Linked DNA regions of Homo sapiens: region 1 is linked to region 2. Evidence: promoter capture Hi-C in human tissues and cell types (Jung and others, 2019). All regions are on one chromosome and are shown on one strand. Each heading gives the region's core, a stretch centred on a gene start or on the middle of the fragment in contact. The rest is flanking DNA. Distances are from core to core; before and after follow the strand shown. Region 1 has its middle 34 kb from the start of TM4SF1-AS1. Region 2 holds the start of TM4SF1 (transmembrane 4 L six family member 1).

Region 1 (3,451 bases), core at 618-3,117, 34 kb before region 2:
CTACCAAACATTTTTTATATAACTTAAAATAGCCCAGAGCACAATCATGAAGCTTTAAAACTAAATCTTATAAACCATTTAAACTGTCATTTATTGTTTTGTTCAGTTCCTCCCATGCTTTTGTATTGCTTAATTTTAATATCTTCTTGTTCATAAGCTTTGCCTTCGATAATTGCAGTTTGCCAAAATTTAAAAGCTGAAGTTTTGGGGTGCTCTACTCATTTGATACCTTGATTGAAGATTTCCAGCTGATTTTGAATGAAATGCAACCAAAATTTAAAGGACACATTTACCAAAAAATGTCAATGCCAATATAAGATACTTATGTTGTGTTACAAATTTGTTTTTCAAGGACTCAAATGTTTCTAAAATCTAATTAATGATGAACAGCAAAGAGTGGGTTCACATGTTGCTATACCCAAGTATTTTCTTTCTTCAATATCAGTATCACCATGAAAACTATGTAGTTCAGTTATTTTATCTGCGTATATGTAAAAATGTTTGTGAGTTTTGGCAATACAGCTTCTATGTCAATTGGTAGAATATCATAGCTTGTTTAACCCAATTATGAGTCATGTGCATGGCAATCAATTCCAAGTACATTTTTGCTCTACAAGTTTAATTTAGTAAGAGCATTATTTTTTCCACAATGGTGTACATCGCCAGAATTTGTAAGCATATTATGGATGCAAAAACAAATCATTTAATCCTCAATGCTGTACTCTGTAACAGAATTTACAATAGCATTCGCAATAATCTCAGATGTTTCACTTTCAACAAAAGAAAATCCTAAAAGTTTTACTTTGATTCCCTGAATTGGATGAGAGCCTTCAACTGTCATCAGAGTTAACTAGATTTTTACTTGAATCACCAGATGACATTGATACAAAATTGAGGCCATTTTGGCAAGTTCTTCTTATGCTAATTATCCGCTATCATTTTTCACTAACACTTTACAAGTGTATGTACATGAGGAAACGGGATTTTAAAAGAACAAAATTAAAATAGATAAACGATCATTTAACCTAAATGAAAAGTTATGCTTTAAAAGAGGTTGTATAAATGCACCTTCTGAAGCTGCACCTGCTCAACTGTTGTCACATTCAACATGCGTCTTCTTAAATTTACCATTAACTTTCGAAGTAGACCCTGATGATTTTTCAGCAGATTTGTATTTCCTTGTTTTCAAGTGGTCAGTGATATCACAATGGGTCCCACGGTGGATGGCAAATGTCTACATTTTGTGCAAGTTTCACTTTAATCATTTACTTTCTTGAGAAATGGCAATTCTGTACTTGATTTTGTACTAAACTCATGTTTTCATTTCCTTGAGGTCACTGCTATTGAAAGGGTTTATTGTAAAATAAAAAAGCATTGCAGAACAACAAAATAGTCATGGATTTATTTGGATTTATGCCATTCAATTCAATAAATGGCAAAACAATTGCAGCATTCAGACTACACAGTAAGTTCTATGGCAGGACTTCTTGTCTTCTGTCTTCTGTACATACTTTATATGTACCTAACCCATAATTTCCCACGTTTTCCACCAACTTAGTGACTTGCTGACTTTGTGCATTTATAGAGAGTGGCACAAGCTGATAGACTGTCTGGCAGGGCCAGCAGCATAGAATATCTCTTTTACCACTACCTGAGACCAGGAGTTATCTGTCCCTAACTGCTCATGACTGAGTACAGGCATACCTTGTTTTGTTGTGCTTTACTTTATTGAGCTGTGTGTTATGGTTTTTACAAATTGAAGGTTTGTGGCAACCCTGCATTGGTCTATTGGTGCCATTTTTCCAACAGCATGTGCTCACATCATGTCTCTGTGCCACGTTTTAGTAATTCTAACTTTTTCCTTATTATTAGTATTTCAAACTTTTTCCTTATTATTATATCTGTCATGGTGATCTATGGTCAGTGATCTTTGATGTTACTATTATAATTGTTTTGAGGTGCCACAAACCATGCCCATATAAGACATTGAACTTAATCAATAAATGCTATGTGTGTTCTGACAGCTCCACCAACAAGCCTTTCCCCATCTCTCTCCCTCTCCTTGGGCCACCCTATTTTCTGGGACACAAGAATATTGAAATTGGGCCAATTAATAACCCTACAATGGTTTCTAAGTGTTCAGGTGAAAGGAAGAGTCTCACATCGCACTTTAAAGCAAAAGCTAGAAATTATTAAGCTTAGTGACGAAGGCATATGGAAAGCCAAGACAGGCCAGAAGCTAGGCCTCTTGAGCCAAAAACTTAGCCACATTGTGAACGCAAAGGAAAAGTTCTTGAAGAAAATTACTTCCAGGGAACACATGAATGATAAGAAAGTGAAACACCCTTCTCGTTGATATGGAGAAAGTTGGAGTGGTATGGATAGAAGATCAAACCAGCCACAACATTCCCTTAAGCCGAAGCTTAATCAAGAGAAAGGCCCCAGCTCTCTTCAATTCTATGAAAGCAGAAAGACGTGATGAAGCTCCATGAGAAAAGTTTGAAGCTAGCAGAGGTTGATTCATGAGGTTTAAGGAAAGAAGTTGTATCTCCATAACATAAAAGTACAGGGTGAAGCAGCAAGTGCTGATGTAGAAGCTGCAGTCAGTTAGCCAGAAGATCTAGCTATGATCATTGATGATGGTGGCTACAATGAACAACAGATTTTCAATGTAAGTAAAACAGATCTTCTTCCATTGGAAGAAGATATCTTCTAAGGCTTTTGTAGCTAGAGAGGAAGAGAAGTCTATGCCTGGCTTTAAAGCTTCAAAGGACAGGCTGACTCCCTTGTTAGGGGCTAATGCAACTGGTGACTTTAAGATGAAGCCAATTCTCATTTGCCCTCTGAAAGTCTAGCATTTATTCTGCAGCATATGGATCAAGTAATAATTTTTTGGCTTTCAAGTCTTATTATACAAAAACACATTTCATAAACTGTCATATATAGTGATTCCCCTGATGGATCTGGGCAAAGTAAATTGAAAACCTTCTGGGAAAAATTCATTATTCTAGATGTCATCAAGAAAATTTGTGATCCATGGGAGGATGTAGAAATATCAACATTAACAGGAGTTTGGAAGAAGTTAATTCCAACCTTCGTGGATGAATTTAAGGGGTTCAAGACTTCAGGCAGGAAGTAACTGCAGAGGTGGTGGAAATAGCAAGAAAACTAGAACTAGAAGTAGAGCCTGAAGATGAGACTAAGTGGCTCAATCTCATGATCAAACTTGAACAGATGAGGATTTGCTTCTTACAGGTAGGAAGACCCTCCCCCAGCAAAAGGATTATGACTCGATGAAGGCTCAGATGACTGGTATTTTATTATTGGAGACAGGGTCTCATTATGTCATCCAGGCTGGAGTGCAGTGGCATGATCATGGCTCACTGTAGCCTTGACCTCCTGGGCCCAGAAATCCTCCCATCTCAGCCTATAGCTGAGACTACCGGAATGC
Region 2 (3,601 bases), core at 492-2,991:
GCAGACAGGAGGGTTGCAATGATTATGCTTCAACAAAGGATGCCGTCATTCACCCATAGGCTCTGTCACCAGTGGAATCCTGTCTCTAAGCCATCGGGCCAAACACACGTTCCCTGTTGTTGGACACATAGTGGTGACCCAATGACACTCTTATGAGGATTTGCCTGCCTCCGCCTGAGCAGGTGGGTGGTTCCACGCTTCCCAACTCCACTGATTTATTTCCTCAGGCCATCCTGGATTCTGGCTTCACCCCTGTTAGTGTGCTGAGGCCACACTTCTTGGGCCCTCCTCCGGTCCCATGCCACATCACTAACCACAGCTGGTCTCCTCAAATTTGGTATGTGTCCCGCCCTCTAGTTCCGGGCCAAATCCTTCAGACTCTAGATTCGTGAACCTCATTCACCTTCTTCTTCTAAGCTAATGCCTCCCTACCTTGGTCCTTTTCTATTTTCTGTACTCTCTATCTTGTCCTGGTGACAAGGCCCTCCAGGCCTGGCCCCACCCGGCCACCCTGTCCACCTCCCACCACCATCCACTGGCTGGTGCAATCTGCTGTTCAAGGCATAAATTTATTCAGTGCCCAGCCCCTCCTTCTGCAAGGTAACCACCTAGAAAGTTAGTCTAACACCCTTTCTCTGCCCTGTGTGGGGAGCCTGTGGAAGCTGGTCTCAGGATCTGGCTGGGTAAACCATCTGTTTACCTCTGTGTGGGTTCTGACACTCCTAGCCAGTTCTGTTTCTCTGAACCTTGTTTCTCCACTCTGCTTGCCAAGTCCCTTTGTCTTATTTTTTTCTCCCTCTCCCTCCTTCCTTCCCTCCCCCCATCCTTCCTTCCTTTTTTCCTTCCTTCCTTCCTCCCTCCCTCCCTTCCTCCCTTTTTCCCTCTCTCCTTCTCTCCCTCCTTCTCTTCTTTCCTTCCTCTCTTCCTTCCTCCTTTCCTCTTTCCTTCTCTCCCATTCTCTTCCTCCCCCTCTCTTCTTCCTCTTTTTATTTTTGTCCCATGCTTTAGGCCTTCCTTGGCCCTTCCTGGCATTGCTTTTCCTGACAGCAACACTCAATAATTTTTAAAAAGCACCTGAGCCCTTTGTGTTGACTGATGCCACCTCTGTTGTGGTGCAGATTTGTTTTAGAGGCAGATGTCCAGGGACGCTGAACACTGAAATCCATCCTGCAGAGCTTGCTGTAGGCAGAGTAAAGAAGTTTGCTCTGTAGTTTTCCCAACAGCCTTCTCAAATCCATGGGAGACGTCTCAGACACCTTGTATTTAATAGACAAGGAAATGAGCTCAGGAGATTTGCCCCAGGTTGTAAATTAAATCAGCACAAAGGTAGAAATGAACACAGAGCTCTCAGATTGGAAGCTGTCCAGACAGCTGCATGGAGCAGGGGCACAGCTCACTGTCTTTCAAAGCCTCAACCAGGGCTGTTGCATCTCGGACACTTGGCAGTTACTGGAAAGTCATGTTAGGCTTTCCTGTTGATTCTTTATCTTGTGGAGGAGTTGCACAGTCAATGCCTTGTTCAAGATTAATCATTTTCCCTGTTGCCTATGACTGAGGCTGTTTCTCACATCCTGCCCCTGGTTTTGCCTGTCCCAAGGATTTCGTCTGAAGGGCGGGACATTCCCCCTGCCTCTTCGCACCACAGCCAGAGCCTGCCATTAGGACCAATGAAAGCAAAGTACCTCATCCCCTCAGTGACTAAGAATCGCAGTATTTAAGAGGTAGCAGGAATGGGCTGAGAGTGGTGTTTGCTTTCTCCACCAGAAGGGCACACTTTCATCTAATTTGGGGTATCACTGAGCTGAAGACAAAGAGAAGGGGGAGAAAACCTAGCAGACCACCATGTGCTATGGGAAGTGTGCACGATGCATCGGACATTCTCTGGTGGGGCTCGCCCTCCTGTGCATCGCGGCTAATATTTTGCTTTACTTTCCCAATGGGGAAACAAAGTATGCCTCCGAAAACCACCTCAGCCGCTTCGTGTGGTTCTTTTCTGGCATCGTAGGAGGTGGCCTGCTGGTAAGTCATTCAGGATTATTACTGAATTCTCTCCTGTTTCCTAGATGTTTTCATTATGTATTTTCATGGAAAGTTTTTTGTAATGCATATTTCTAAATCAAGTGACTTTTTTGTTGCTGTTCATTCCTTTGAAAGCAGATTATACAAAAGCGAGATTGGTACAGTATAGCGTAGTAATTTTATGAGATGTTGTTTTACAAAATGCTCTTTCAACTAAAAGTGAACTGCCTTTTTGCTAAACTCTATAGGTAGGAAACAGATATTCGCTTTTAAATCAGATTTGAGAGACTATAGAGTTTCTACTAGAACGGGCAGTCATTTAACATTTGCTCTGGGGAGCCGGAAGGGGTTGGCTGGTTCTCTGCCTAAATCAACAGTTTTGAATCCAAATTCTCTGCTGTTTATTTTCAGCCATCTGTGATAGGGAAAAATAATGAATTGTGAGTGCATTGCTATTTTAAAAGAACTCTAAGCTTTCTCCTTTATGTAAGGCTGGGGTGTGGCGTCTAGGAAAAACCCTACAGTTAGCAGCAGGTCGGTGTCTGAAGCTAATAGTGGAATGTGTTATTTTTTCCAAGAATTGTTTTTGATTGAAGTGAGAGGAATTTCCCTGCCAACCTGGGAGCTGAAAGCATTAGCTTCAACCACAGCATGGAAAGAATGTGAGCAAACTTAAGTTTGCTACTTTAAAGTGCTGGGATTAAAAATTTTAAGGAGAAATTTTATGGAATGGTACCATACGTGATAAATTTTCTTAATCAAGTAAAAGATAGTAAAACATTTAAACCTAATACACTGATTATGGCATGGCAAATCTGCCCTAAATTATTTATTTAATGAGATTTTATTTAATTTTATTTTATTTAATGAGACGGGGTTTCGCCATGTTGCCCAGGCTGGTCTTGAACTCATGGGCCCAAGTGACCCTCCTACCTTGGCCTCCCAAAGTGCTGGGATTACAGGCATGAGCCACAGTGCCCGTCTGCCTCAAATTTAAGCATTATTATCATGTTAACATGATTATTTGTCTTAAACATAACATCACACTTAAGTTTCTTTCGATCTTGAACCTGAAGTATTTCATATTTACTATATTTTAAGAGCTTAATATTGTTAAGTTAAAACTATGCATTTGTATAATCAAGGAAGCAGTTAATATTTATTATATATAGCTTTCATGTCTCCCATTTACAAAAAAGTTTCAGTTATTCTATTAAAGATTTGTTGGTATATTCTGCATTTTACAAGTGGAAAAAATCAGATTTAAAGAAAGGGTTTAATATTTCCAAAACAGAGTTTGTTATCTGGGGTCGTGTGATAAACTCTTGTGGAATAAACACGTTTACAGTTTATTATTTTACTCCTCCCATGTTACATCCTCACCCTAAAAAATGCTTTGACAGATTACATGAAAACAAGCAGATATGACATTTAAATGGTCTTTTTCTCCTCAGAGGTTTACATTCTTTGAGATATCTGGTCAACCTAATCAAAGCCAGTTAATGTCATTGGAAATAAATATATTTTACCAAGAGATGCCTAACCTGACCCATATGAGCCTGAGCAAGACAATGACCTGACT

Evidence for each region. The method cuts DNA at HindIII sites, captures the fragments that hold promoters and counts their contacts. A contact is called where the count stands out against the background at its distance.
Region 1: a contact is called between a fragment that was not itself captured here and the fragment with the promoter of TM4SF1 in region 2, in 1 of the 25 tissues and cell types used here (aorta).

The regions. Positions count from the first base shown.
Region 1 is chr3:149,409,779-149,413,229 of GRCh38, reverse strand. No RefSeq gene overlaps it. Among named protein-coding and RNA genes, the nearest start is that of TM4SF1-AS1, 34 kb to the right of the region's middle. The HindIII fragment of the contact is 3,524 bases long and covers 106-3,451 here.
Region 2 is chr3:149,375,789-149,379,389 of GRCh38, reverse strand. It overlaps TM4SF1 (transmembrane 4 L six family member 1), which reads left to right and starts at 1,741. Exons shown (of 5, transcript NM_014220.3): 1 at 1,741-2,019. The coding sequence starts at 1,843. TM4SF1-AS1 (TM4SF1 antisense RNA 1) reads right to left here and starts at 1,612. Exons shown (of 2, transcript NR_109810.1): 1 at 1,075-1,612. The HindIII fragment of the contact is 5,365 bases long and covers 1-3,601 here.